Regions from separate parts of the Homo sapiens genome. Here region 1 is linked to region 2. The links are contacts of gene promoters, found by promoter capture Hi-C in blood cells and fetal thymus (Javierre and others, 2016). All regions are on one chromosome and are shown on one strand. The core of a region is centred on a gene start or on the middle of the fragment in contact, and the rest is flanking DNA. Distances in the headings are between cores, read along the strand shown. Region 1 holds the start of TBC1D9B (TBC1 domain family member 9B). Region 2 holds the start of RASGEF1C (RasGEF domain family member 1C).

Region 1 (7,253 bases), core at 928-3,427, 300 kb before region 2:
AGCAATCTAAAAACCTGTTTATTGTTTTTACTTGAAATTTTTTCTTCCTTTTAACGAAGTGCTGCTTTTGGCATGATCTGAAAATATTTTGTTACCATTTTTCCTGTTGATGTCAGAACAATTTTTATTGCTGTTATTCAACTTTAACACTTTTGTTTCATAGTCCATTAATACTTTTTTGAGATAGTCTCGCTCTGTCGCCCAAGGTGGAGTGCAATGGCGCCATCTCGGCTCACTGCAACCTTGACCTCCTGGGTTCAAGCGATTCTCGTGCCTCAGCCTCCCGAGTAGCTGGGATAACAGGCGCGTGCCACCATGCCTGGATAAATTTTATATTTTTAGTAGAGACGGGGTTTTGCCATGTTGGCCAAGCTAGCTATTCAGATTCTTTAATGAAAAGTCTAGGTTGGCATGTTTTTAATAGATGGCTTGGATAAAACCACATCCCTGTCTGCTCCTCTTCAGGGAGGACAGTACTCAGGAGGCCACGATGCCCATGATGGCACAGGGAAGGCCCTGTCAGAGGGCACAGCAGGACACACCAAACCTAGCAGTGGGGAGAGATTGGGAGAGGGTTCAAAGAAGGGTTCCCTTGGGGGGACCCTGGGAGCTCGGTCCCAGGGGACACGGAGAGTGAGGTGGAAAGGAGAAGAGCCCGCAGGAAGGAGGTGTACAGAGACCGGGCTGCACCTGCACCCGCCCGTTCAATGAGACGACCCACATAAGCCTGCCGAGCACAGCACAAGTGTTTCAAGTACACCAGCGAATATGACACACTGGCGCGCTGATGACACCCTGGCGCGCTGGCGGAAGAAAAGGTGCCGGTCCCTCGCTTTCTTCATCGGGCTTGCAGTAGCTTCGAGGTTAGCCACAGGGGCTGCCGACTGAACAGCTGGATCTAGGAGGCGGGTCCAGAACAGGAGCCCGAGATCCTTGAAGCCCACTGGGAGGGAACCCGAAGCTGAAGGGAACACTGAGTGTTTCTGGGAACAGAACAGTCTCTTCCACATGAAGAAACGTGGCCCAGGAGAAGCCTCCGTCTGCATCTGGCTATTAGCTGCTCACACTGAAAATCAGGATGATTCACAGAAAATGCTCTTGATAAACTGGACGACCTGGCAACACTGGGACCGCAATCCTGTAGGGCAACAGTCGGTGCCCCGAAGAGCACAGGCACTGAGCCCGAGCCAGCCGGGCTCCTGCAGTGCTGGGCGCAGGCCCTGGAGCATGAGGGGCCCCGGACACCACCTGCGGAGGGAGTGGCCTGTGGGCCTCCCCTGGATCCCACAGGCCGCACGACTCCAAGGGTGCCTGTCCAGCTTCATCCTGTGTGATGGTGGCACCCGGGCCCACAAAGGGCCACCTTGGCGAGCTTGCAGGAACACCCTGTGCCGCTACCCACAGCCTTGGGTGCGCAGCTCTGAGAGCAGCCAGGAGCAGGAAAGGTGGGGGAGGAGAAGCTGGGGGAATGGGGGTGCGGCCAGCTCCAGGGACCTCTGATCTTGCTAAAAGGGCGATACTTTGGTGAGATGGGCACGAAGAAGAGGGCAAAAGAAAACGTGCGCTGGCGTCACCTGGCCCCTTAGAGGCACCTGGGGAAACTGAGGTGGAGGATGAGGACAGGGCGGTCTCGCCAACTTTCGGCGGTGAGATCCCGGGAAGCTGCACGGCCCCCGGGGCTCGCGGGCGCCGAATCCGGGCAGAAGCCGCCGCCGGTCTCCACTTGGCCGCCCCAAGCCGACCTGAGGAGAGCCCGCCGAGGGCGCATTCGCCTCCCGCCAGCCCCTCGCCTCCCCGCCCCGGCCCCTCCGCGCCCGGCTCCCGGGTCCTGGCCTCGCGCCCCCGCCCCGCCGCGCGCTGGCGTGCGTGTCCGCCGCGACGCGCCGAGGCCGGGCCGGAACCGGACCCGCCCGCCGCCCGCCGCCAGCCCCGCCGCCAGCCCAGCCGCGGCGCCCACAGGCCCGGCCGCCCGCGCGCCTCTCACCCGTAAGGCCGCCGCCCCTGCCGTGGCCCCGGCGTCGCTGCAGCACGAAGAAGGGGTTGGCCCGCTCCGTCACCCACAGCGCATTGGCCACCAGCACCTCCTCCGGGCTCAGCCACATCGCGGAGCCGCTCGCACCGGGCCGAGGCCCGCGAGACGGAAGCGCCCGCCGCCGTCGGCGTCCCGGAGCGGAGCGTGCGGAGCGGAGCGTGCGGAGCGGGCCGGGGCGGGGCGGGGCCGGGCGGGCGGCGCCCCCTGGCGGGCGTGTGGCGCTCCCGCACGCGGCCCGAGTTCCGCGCCGCCCCCTCAGCCCCGGCCTCGGGCGCGCGCCAGCCTGGCCTCCTGGAGCGGTGCAGCCCACGGCCTCCGGCCTGGGTCCAGAACGGAACGGCCCAGTCCGCAGACAGGGGAGCCGCTGTGCAGAGCAGGGCTTCTGGCGTTTTGAAAGCTGTGCAGTGTGAGAGAAGGATGTCAAGAAGCAGAGTTTGGCGGCTTTTGGCTGGTTGCGCGTGCAACCCGGGGCGTGTTAGCACTGCAAAGGGCGCCTGGAAAGGGTTTGCAGTTCCTCCTAATTCTCAGCTTTCTTTTCTTTTTTTTTTTTCGACAGAGTCTTGCTGTGTCGCCCAGGCTGGAGTGCAGTGGCGCAATCTCAGCTCACTGCAACCTCTGCCTCCCGGGTTCAAGTGATTCTCCTGCCCCAGCCTCTTTAGCTGGGATTACAGGCTCCCGCCAACACGCCCGGCTAATTTTTTTGTATTTTTAGTAGAGACGGGGTTTCACCATGTTGGCCAGGCTGGTCTCGAACTCCTGACCTCGGGTGATCCGCCTACATTGGCCTCCCAAGTCCTGGGATTACAGGAGTGAACCATCGCGCCCGGCCAGTTCTCAGAATTCTGACACTGGGGCCGGGAGACTAGAAGAATCTTCCAGCGCAGGGCAGGTGCCAGGAGGCCCTGATACGGGCTGCATCCTTGGAAATCAGTGCTGCCCCTCCCCTGACAGACGGGTCACAGAGGCTGGCCGGCCCTGGGGATGGGGTCTGGACTGGCCCTGGGCCCAGTGGCGGCTTCTGCGCAAGTGTGAGGCTGGCTGCAGGCGAATGCGGGTCCCTGGTCTCCCAGTGTTGGCCTGCAGGGGCAGCGCCAGTCCACACACAGCCTTCTGCATGAGGGGGCTGTCAACTCCACCTGGGACAACGGGCCTGGGGCCTGTCCGGGGTCGACTGGGATGTGGGGTCACCCTGCTGGCTGGAACCCTCACCAGGGTCTGGCTAGAGGGCAAAGGGAAGGGGGCAGTTAAACCATCCTTGGAGCTGGACCTGACTTCCAGGTGGGTTTCTGTGATTGGCACTCAAGAATCTTGGTGCGATGGATGTAGGTACATGCAGTTGACACCCAGAGTGATCTGCAGTCTTCTTCAATGTTGCTGGATATAGGAATCAGCTTTCAAGATGCAGAGGCGGGCTTTCTTCAACACCTTGGAAGTCTGAACTAATATTGTCATTGTGCTCTCTAGAGGGAAAGAATTTGGAAGAACTGCACTTTTTAACACCCTGAGAGGAGGTAAAGAGTCGTCTTGTTCCTTAATCCCAGTGGTTCTCAAATTGGGTATACATTAGGATCACCTGGAAGGCTGATTCAAACAGGCTGCTGTAGTCCCAGCCACTTGGGAGGCTGAGGTGGTAGGATCACTTGAGGCCAGGAGTTCAAAATCGGCCAGGGCAATATAGCAAGACTCCATCTGAAAACAAAACAAAACAAAAAACAGCCACACAGGTTGCTGCCCCCTCCCTCCCAGGGTGTTTGCACTGCTAACTCGTTCCTAGGTGATGTTGATGCTGCTGACCTGGAGACCACTCCTCGAGAATGGTTTTTTATAAGAAGAAAAAGAACAAACATTTATCGATCACTTAGTATGTGCGTGCTAAGCTTACTTCTTTTTGATTTTCTGAGATATAAGTCACATTCCGTAACGTTCACTCTTTTAAAGTGCAAAACGTAGTGGTTTTTAGTATATTCACTAGGCTGGGCATCCATCATCACTAATTCCAGAACATTTTTATCAAGTCAAAAGAAACCCCTTACCCATTAGCTGCCATTCCCCACTTCCCCCCGGCTTTGCCCTGGCAACCATCAATCTATTTTGTCTCTATACATTTTTCCCATTCTAGCCATTTCTTCATATAAATGGAACCTTACAATATGTGGTCTTTTGTGTCTGTCTTCTTTCACTTCCCATCATGTGTTCGAGGTTCACCCACGTTGTAGCACGTATTGATGCTTCATTCCTCCTTATGGCTGAATAGTACCCCACGGTATGGATGCACCGCATTTTATTCATTTGGATGGACATTTGGATTGTTTACCCCTCGTCTATTATAAATAATGCTGCCATGAACATGTGTACAAGTCTTTGTGTGAATATGTGTTTTTAATTCTCTTGGGCATATATTGAGGAGTGGTATTGTTGGGTCATGTGGTACAGCTATGTTTAACTTTTTAAGCAGTGACCACACTGCGCTCCAAAGCAGCTGTAGCATTCCACATGCCCACCAGCTGGGTGTAAGAGTTCTAGGCAGGGCGCGGCGGCTCACGCCTGTAACCCCAGCACTTTGGGAGGCCGAGGTGGGCAGATCACAAGGTTAGGAGATCAAGACCATCCTGGCTAACACGGTGAAACCCCGTCTCTACTAAAAATACAAAAATTAGCCGGACGTGGTGGCATATGCTTGTCCCAGCTACTCGGGAGGCTGAGGCAGGAGAATTGCTTGAACCCGGGAGGTGGAGGTTGCAGTGAGCCGAGATCACGCCACTGCAACTTCAGCCTGGGCAGCAGAGTGAGACTCCGTCTCAAAAAAAAAAAAAAAAAAAAGAGTTCTAGTTTTTCCATATCTTGTCAACACTTGTTATTGTCTTTCTTTTTTTTTGATGCTCATTTCTAGAGGGTGGGAAATGGTATCTCGCTGTGGTTTGGATTTCCATTTCCCTGATGACTGATGATGGGCTTTTGGGTTATTTGTATATTTTATCTGGAGAAATGTCTATTTGGAGAAATGTCCTTTGCCCATTTAAAAAATTTTTTTATTTTTTTATTTTTGAGACGGAGTCTCACTCTGTCGCCCAGGCTGGAGTGCAGTGGCATGATCCTGGCTCACTGCAGCCTCTGCCTCCCAAGTTCAAGCGATTCTCCTGCCTCAGCCTCCCAAGTAGCTGGGAGTACAGGTGCGTGCCACCATGCCTGGCTAATTTTAGTATTTTTAGTAGAGAGGAGGTTTCACCATGTTAGCCAGGATGGTCTCGAAATCCTGACCTCAAGTGATCTGCCCGCCTCGGCCTCCCAAAGTGCTGGGATTACAGGCGTGAGCCACTGCACCCGGCCTCTGGCTCCAGTGCTTTTCCACACGTGTCAGACACGTGCTGCCTTTGCCCCCAGCATTCACTTCTCCCGTCTGTGCAGTGTCGTTTGTTTTTCTGCAGTGGGAACCGTGCCTTAGAACGCTCAGCTCTTGTCTGTCAGGTGAAGACACATGGACTCCTGGGCTGTGAAGGTGGAGCCCATGCCAGCTGAGGCCATCGGTGCATTCTATCTGTGATCACAGGGGCTGGCTGGTGATGGCCATGTGCCTCCAACCAAGTCAGTTGGGCCAGGGAAATACCGTCCTGACCTGGGCCACCTCCTGGGGACTGGCTCTTGTGTTGATGGAGCTACTGCCACCCTGAGCCTGGGGATGGGGTTCCCAATGAGGAGCAAAGTTGGCATGTGTCTTGGTGTCAGCATTTGAGGGTGAAATCACACCAAGCCTGACATAGGCACCCCTGGGCATTTTGGCTTTTGGGAGCCATGACATTCCCCTTTTGTGTTAGCCAGTTTTGGCTGGGTTTTCTGTCATTTGTAACCAAGAGAGTCCTCAGTGATACACGTCACCACCAACAATACTCCATGTGGTCAAATCAGCTTTTTCAATAGGTTTTTATTGAAATGGTTATATTAGCAAATTCTGCACATACGGGTGTACACTGTTGGCATATAGGTATATACCATACAATTTCACTACTTGATTATACTTACACCAACCATGCAGACCAAGGAGCTGTGCTGCCCAGAACATTTCAAAGGGTTGATGAGATCTGATTGTCAAGAACCAGCTCACACTCTACTTGTAGGTGTTTGTGTTCCAGACAAGAAAACTCCCCCGACAGGGAGGCCCGAAACTGAGCTAATCGTCAGTTTTGCTTCTTGAATATTGACTGTTCTTTCTGGCACAAGCTATCCAATGAATTAAATTAAAATTTTAATTAAAATTCAAGTGCATAGTTTCCTTTTCATCCCTCAAGGTGGAAGATAAATCATTTGCCACATTTAGGTATATCCCAAGCCTCCCCACCCCCACATTACCTGTGCTATAGTTAGAAAAATAGTTTTGTACGCCATCTTCTGAGATGTTGTGCATAGTGAGCAGGAACCTAGAGTACGGTGGGCTCTTTCAATGACCCAAATATGAAAGGGGCAACTTTAATATTTTATGAGTATAAAAGCTACGGAGGGTCCAAAACAACTGTGACATATGTGGCCTAGGGCTTGCACCAGCTCCTCCTCCTGTACAGGAACAGGATGCTTCCATCAGGTGAGAATGTTCTCCATACCTCAAATCTCATTTCCTAGCTTGGAGCCTTTTCCTGTTTTTGTAATCACACGGGACAAGTTTTCTTTTTAGACAGAGTTATTGCCTCTCTGCAGCAGATCTGGTCCCAAGCCCCAGTCAGGAGATCCCCTCCTGCAGCTGGCTCAGCAAGCCAGGCCCAGGCTGTCTGGAGAACGCCTGGAGACAGCACCCTCTCTGCTTCTCTCCAGGATGGCATGTGTCATCTCAGGCTGGGCACTCAGCAGAGGTGCCAGGACCTGGACCTGGGCCACACCTACTGGCCCAGTCCACAGAGCACAGCCAGCAATCCGCAGCCTTTCTGCTGAAGGAGCGCTTACTCGCCTGAAGGAAGAGAAATGGCCAGGACGGTATATTCTACCTAACCACCTCACCCCACCGTTTCTTTACAAACATCTTGGTTCAGTACCTCCCAGTCATTGGAGAAGTCCTTTAATATCACATAGTGTAAATATACTTGCACTTAATTGGAGATAAAGGCTGTTCCAAAAGCAAATTTGAATTCACTCTGTGTTGGGTTGAATTTGTAAACCACAGCTCAGAACCAGTCTGTGACGCTCCGCAGATGTCGGTGGCTATAGAGAGAGGTGGCTAGGGAAGGCGATGATCCGC
Region 2 (6,728 bases), core at 1,892-4,391:
CTCTTTCACCAGTATGTGAACAGATGGAACAGACAGACCTGTGAGACACACTAGAAAGCCCAGAAACAGGCCCAGGGCTTGGATTTTTAGTGTATGAGAAAGGTGCATTTCAGATCACTGGAGGAAAGATGACCTTTTAAATAAATGGCTTTGGGACAGAGTGCCAGACACTTAGAAAAAGATTAAATTGGATGCAGAGACTAAGTACACAACTAAACAAATATTAGAAAACACAGATGATTGCTTTATAATTGGGCTTTTCATAGTTAGAAAAGTCTAAGTATGATTCCAAATCTATGTGAAAAGATGTCCAATTTCATTTATAATAATAGAAATATAAATTTAAAATACACTGAAATACTGTTTCTCAGCTCTCAAACCAGCGAGGCTGTGGGGAAACAGAAGACACTGTGATACATCGGTGGTGGGAATGCAAAACGGTGCTACCTCTTGACAAGGAATTTGGGACTAGCTAACAAAATAAATCCACATTCACTCCTACTTCTAGAAGTGTGTTCTAAATATACACCTTTGCAAACATTAACAATATAGGTGCAAAGTTATCCATTACTCCATTATTTTAAATTTAAAAAGACTTGGAAAAAAACAAAATTGTTCATCCAGAGGACATAATTTGAATAAACAATAATAGTACAGCCACAGAACGAAATACTATGTGAGTGTAAAAAAGAATGAGCCAGGTCTCCATGAACTGGTAAGAAGTTACTTTCAGGACATACTTCTAACTGAAGAAAAACCAGGAGCTGTACGGCTAACTTTTGTGATAATGCTTAAATGACTTGTTTTGCAGAAAGAGACACAGGAAGGATAAACCAGAAAATATTTTAAATGGCTCCCAATGGTGTGGGAACAAGGAAGAAGATGCAGGGGTGGGACTGAGACCTTTAAGGATAGCTTTTTAATAGTTCTGACCTTTAAACCATGTGTTTTACGTATTCAAAAAATAAAATTACATCCTAAAGTCTAAAGGAAAAAAAGCTCCAAATTGAATGCAAGTAGAAACACACGAAGCTAACAGTGTGTCCGACTGATAACGTCACCACACAGCACTCTGCCTGCACACCCGTGGAAATCCCGATGCTGACCTAGCAGGTTTTGGTTGGCTTCGGTGTGGATGCAGTCATTCTGAAACTCTTTCGGGGTGCATTGTGGAGCTAAGTAAATGATGAAATATATTCATGTTTGGGGGAATAAGGTTCTCACTGCAGGAGAAAGGGAAAGGAAATATTAATTTTTAGTAAAAAAGGGGCCTTGGCTTGGTCCACTGACAAGGCCTAGAGGCGGCGAGTGCACGCCCCACACTAAGCCCGGGTCCCACGCAAGGAACCAAGGCCCCTTGGACAAATGGCTGACTCTGGATCTGGGTCCAGGTACAAGTGAGAGCTGGAACCACCTCAGAGACTGGCGGGGACATGGCAGGAGGGTGCAGACCCCGGCCTGAAAAGGGCCAGGTCCCGGGCAGGGCCCCACCTCTACCTGGTGGCCTGCGGGCTCCCCCTCGCCAGTCCCGCCCTGGGCTCCGCAGCCCGTCCCTCTCTCGCCTGCCCTCCCTCTCCTGCCCCGGCAGTGCGCCCACCCGCCGCCACGGGCAGCCTTTCGACGCCCAACCTGCAAACCGCCTGGGGGCTGCCCAGGACGTCCAGACCCTGTAGCGTCTCAGCTCCAGCTCCGCCCCCTCCTGCCCTCAGGGATCTCACCCGCGCTGTTCCCCCGGGCTACCCGTCCATCACAGGCTGGGCTCCCCGCTCAGGACAGCCTCCCTGACCAGACGAAGGCTCCGCCGCGCCCTGGTCTCCCTCTGCCCCAGTCACCCTACTGCATGTTCTTCCCAGCACGCATAAGATCTTGGCCATGTCCTTGCTTTTGCCTTTGATTTCTTGTTTGGTGTCCCCTCCCACACCAGCTAGTGAGCACTTACGGGGGCAGGCAGCAGGCGGCACACAGTAGGCGCTCAATGAATGTGGCCAGTGAGTGGACAACCCTAGCCCCCCTCCACCGGTCGCCTGCACAGTGGCTGCACTATGGCTGTTGGAGCCAGTCTTACCAGAGGTGGGACCCCAGCGTTGCCACTCCATGGTCCCGCCCCTCTCTAAACCTCAGTTACTCCACCTGCCTGGCAGGCAGAGCTTCCCAGGACTCTTCTCAGGCTCCCGGGGCTCAGAACTTCTGTCTCTCCCACAGCCCCAGGAGGCAGGAGATACGGGCCCGGAAGAGCTCCACCAGCACCCCAACTTCCCAGCTCTGTCTTTCCCACAGTTTCCCACGCCCACGCTGAGCATGGGGCGGCGTCGCCAGCACCCTTCCCCAAGTCCCCCCAAGCATCGCTTTCCCAATCTAAATACAATGAGTGGACCAGGTGGTCCCTTGATGCCGTCCGCTGTCACTGCGTGAGGGACACACCCAGGACTCCCAGCAGACCCCACTGTTCTCGCAGGCCCTCTGATAGTGGCGCTGGTCCTTTCCTCAAATCCGATCCCATCCTCAAGGGTGACAGCACCCTCTTCCCCCAGGCGCAAGGCCCTTTCCCTTCTGCACGTGCACCGGCAGGTCTGCTTTCCCGTCCCCATTTCATAGACGGGGAAACTGAGGTCCGGTGCGGGTGGAGGCTTTGGTCTAGGCTGGCTCTTCCTGCCACTCTAGCGGCTGAAAGAAGCTTGCTCCTCGCGCCCAGCAGGGGCTGGCGGCGCGCGGCAGAGCTGGGTCTCCCGCCAGGTGGCCGGGGGTGTGCCCTCAGGGTACCCTACCCGCTACCCCCGCGCCTCCAGTCCCGGCGGCCGCGCGGACCCCGCCCCTGCTGACCCCGGCGCACGCTCCCGCGCCGCGCGCAGCCTCCCGCCTCCCGCCGACCCCGCCGCGCCGCCGGCAGCCCTCCCCAGCCCCCGCGAGCCCGCGCCCTTGCCCGCACCGCCAGGTGTCCCTCGGCCGCGCACCACTCACCGGCTCCCGGCGCGCCGGAACTCCGGGCCCGGCCCATGGGCAGCTCCCGGTGCGAGCCTCGGCGCCGCGGACCGGGGCGCCGCCCGCCGCCGCCGCCGCCGCCGCCGCCGCCGCCGCCGCCGCCCGACCGCCCGGCTCCCAGCGCAGCCCGCACGAGCGCCTGGCGGCGGCCCCGGAGCAACGCGGCGCTGCGCCCCCTCGTGGCACTCAGGCAGCGCGGAGCGGGCGGGGCGCGGGGGTGGAGCTGCGGGAGCCCGCGGGCGGCGCTGCACACCAGGGCCCTCCGTGCCCCGGCCGCGGAGCCAAGCGTCCCGCCCTGCGTTCAGGCCTCCGCGGCGGCTGGCCCCCCGCGCCAGGACCACCCGCTCGGGCCGTCAGACGCTGCCCTCCCGCGCGCGGACCCTGGCGGACTCTGCGCCCCAGCTGCCCCAGCCTACACCTCACCTGGTGGGCCTCTGGCGCCCCAAAACCCAGTTCACCCTCTCTCCTCAAGACTGGGCCCGGCCCGGTTCTCTGGACTGGCCACCTAGGTTGTCTGTGTCCCCCAATGGGACATCCCTGGGTGGACACCCCCCCTCCCCAACCTTCTCGGCGCTCTCCCGTGGCCCCCAGGGAGGGTGGACACCACTTTGAAGACACCGGGGTTCTGGGAGGATGGCGATGCATGATTTCACTTTTAGAAAGGGAGAGGGGCTCTAACAGGATCCAGTGGCCTCCTTGAACTGGGTCTTCAGTGAAAAGTTCCCTGGTTGGTCCCAGCATAGAGGTCAGGACACCTGTCCTCCTGTGTCCGCAGTTTGTCCCTTCCGCTGGGTTCCTGGTCTGGCTGACTTCAAGAATGAGCCAGGGACCTTGGCAGTGAGTGTTACAGCTCTTAAAGGTGGTGCGACGGTGAAACCCTGTCTGTACTAAAAATACAAAAAAATTAGCCAGGTTTGGTGGTGGGCGCTTGTGGTCCCAGCTATTCGGGAGGCTGAGGCAGGAGAAGGGCGTGAACCCGGGGAGGTGGAGCTTGCAGTGAGCAGAGATTGCACCACTGCACTGTAGCCTGGGCGACAGAGCAAGACTCCATCTCAAAAAAAAAAAAAAAGAAAAGAAAAGAAAAAGGTGGTGCAGACCCAAAGAGTGCGTAGCAGCAAAATGTCTTGTGAAGAGCAAGAGAACAAAGCTTCCACAGCAGGGAAAAAGACCACAGCCGGTCGCCGCTGTTGCTGGCTGGCGAGGGGTGGGCGGGCAGCTTTTATTCCCTTATTTGTCCCCACCCATGTCCTGCTGATTGGTCCGTTTCACGGAGTGCTGATTGGTGCGTTTTTACAGAGTGCTGATTGGTGCATTTACAATCCTCTAGCTAGCCAGAAAAGTTCTCCAAGTCCCCACCCGACACGGAAGTTCCAGCTGCCTTCACCTCACTCTGCTTTAGTCAGGACCTGCCTGATGAGATGTGGCCCAAAACTCAACCCAACCAGCTTGAGCAAAAAGCTGGTTTGTGGATCATAAAAAGCCAAGGTTTACTGCTTAGAGGAATGGCTAGATCCAGGTACTTAACCTATGTGCATAGAAACTGGCCTCCCCTATCTCCCAGTCTTTCTGTGGCAGAATGGCCCTGGGTTGACACCTCAGAGAGGGCACAGCTGCCTGATAGTTGCAAGGACAGCCTGCGGCTGCCACACACAGGCTCCGAGGAGCTGAGCTCAGGCCATTTCCAAAGACCTAGGGAGCAGGAATAGCAGGCCTGGGTGTCGTCTCACTAGAGCTGAGGCAGAGTTAGTCCTGTGTCAGCTTTGAGGATGGAGTAAGGTGCTGTTCCAAGCTTCCGTGAAGGCTGTTCCTGGAAGAATGGACAGGTTAAGAACAACAGTCCAGCCCATTTCTTGAACAGTTAGGGAAACTGAGTCCTGGAGAGAGCAGGCAGCTGCCTAGGGCATACAGATGTATTAGAATGAATGTGGGCCAGGTAGCTAGGCAGGGAGACAGCAGGGCTGGGGCCAGGGCCAGGGCCAGAGGCTGGCCCTAGGGAGGGTGACATCTGAGACCAAGGGTCAGGTGTGGGGAAAGGGAGGAGGAACAGAGGCAGGCACTTGGTCAGGGGTGAGCAGTGTGCTCCCAGCAGATAGACAGATGCGCCTCAGGGTGCAGGCACTGGGCCCTCCCTGCATCTTCTCCGATTATCACCCTATGCCCCTAAGCCTCAGGTCCAGTCCCAGGGTGTCGCCTGGAGGAAGCCAGGAGTCTAGGAGGAGAGGCCGCAAGAGGCACCTCAGAAGAGCTGACCCACTCAGCTGTGTTGTTCTGGGGTCTGGGCAGCACTGAGCGGCCCTCCTAACCAAGTGCAGGTCAGGGTGGTGAGGCCAGTCTTTCCCCAGCTCACCCTTGCTCTGTGAGCAAAGGCTGCTGTCCCCTGATAAAGAACTTTCTCCAGCAAGTGGCTGGGGCCACTGAAGCATGATTGCCCTGCTGGGAGCAGGGTAGGGGATGCTTGGATGAGGCCAGGGCAACTGGAACATGGGTGTGGACTAGCTCATGGCCACAGCTCCGTGTCCCACAGGGGTGAGGGTGGCAGAGCTTTGCTCTGGGACAAAGGAGAAGACCGTGTCCCCTGAGGTCTCCTGCGTCCTCTCCCTGCCAGACCCATCGCTGCCGAGAGTTGGGCCTGTGCTGAGGAAGACGCATGAGCTGCAGTCGCGGCTCATGCAACACCAGGAAGGTTTTTGAGCCTCGCGGCCAGCGTGGAGTTCTGCCCTGAGCCTCCAGCTTTGTGGGACCCTGGCTGCAGGTGCCACCACTGGGCCCTGGGAGGTATCTGCTCCCGCCCCCTCATAGCCCACCCAGGAGTGCCCTCTAGCAAGGAACCTCTCCTGCCCAGCCCCTACCCTGCCCACCCAACTTCTCACTCCAGAACGTGCCCCGGGGCTAATCCCTGAGTGAGGGCATTGGGACAGAGGGTGAGCCATCCCTAGGGCCGTCAACTCAGTCTCCCCTCACCCCACCACTGCCCTGAGACATCTATTGGGTGGACACTTACCTAGGGCCTATGTGTGCCGGGCACCATGCTGGGTGCTGGGAATATAGCAGAGAGCCCGACATGGGGTTCCTGCCCCCTGGAACTCATGGTTTAGAGAAGGGAGGCTGAAAACTAACCATACAAACAAAAGAGTAAAAACAATCATTTCGGAGAGCGCCGAGCGCCATGAAGGAAGCCATACTGGGGAGGTGGTTGAGTGCGGTGGGGCTGCTTTAGAAGGGAGGGCCCAGGAAGGGCCTCTCCAGGCACATCAGACAAGGCACTGGCCATACAGGGTCTGGGAAAAGCACCGTGGGCAGAGAGAATAGCAAGGGCGAGGCCCTGTGGCTGGCATGGACTTTGCATTGTTTTTGCAAAAAAGAGGCTGGAGCCAAGGTGGAAGGGAACAGGGCCAGGCAGGGTGTCCAGGTGGGCAAGGAGCTGGATCCTGTCCTCTGGGTGTCGACACAGGGGCAGGTGTGGCTGCAGCTCTGCCAGCAGCACCCCCAGCAGGAGGGGGTGGTGCTGTCCCCAGATGTAGGGGTCCTGACACCCATGAGGCCTTTCCCAGCACCTTCAGCCCCTGCGTAGCTGCCCCTGGCCTGGATGGCACATCCTGCACACGTGTGACTCTGGGAGACCTGAGTGTGCCCCACCAACGCAGCACTGGGTTAGTGGGGCTGGAGTCCTTGTTCACTGGGTGTGGCCACGAGGGACAGGCAGCAGGCCCACGAGGAGTTGGCAGGCAGGGGAGAGCTGATGAGTACAG

What was found. The method cuts DNA at HindIII sites, captures the fragments that hold promoters and counts their contacts. A CHiCAGO score of 5 or more calls a contact.
Region 1: the fragment with the promoter of TBC1D9B here is called in contact with the fragment with the promoter of RASGEF1C in region 2 in 4 of 17 cell types (megakaryocytes, M1 macrophages, M0 macrophages and 1 more); the score reaches 6.7 in megakaryocytes.

What each region holds. Positions count from the first base shown.
Region 1 is chr5:179,905,720-179,912,972 of GRCh38, forward strand. TBC1D9B (TBC1 domain family member 9B) reads right to left here and starts at 2,178. Exons shown (of 21, transcript NM_015043.4): 1 at 1,985-2,178. The coding sequence starts at 2,102. It also overlaps a transcript of RNF130 not described here. RefSeq lists an enhancer at 1,132-1,909 and silencers at 1,790-1,839, 1,890-2,029, 2,040-2,099, 2,170-2,329. The HindIII fragment of the contact is 10,003 bases long and covers 1-3,907 here.
Region 2 is chr5:180,206,070-180,212,797 of GRCh38, forward strand. It overlaps RASGEF1C (RasGEF domain family member 1C), which reads right to left and starts at 3,142. Exons shown (of 14, transcript NM_175062.4): 1 at 2,959-3,142. RefSeq lists an enhancer at 1,141-1,933 and a silencer at 3,058-3,277. The HindIII fragment of the contact is 1,452 bases long and covers 2,673-4,124 here.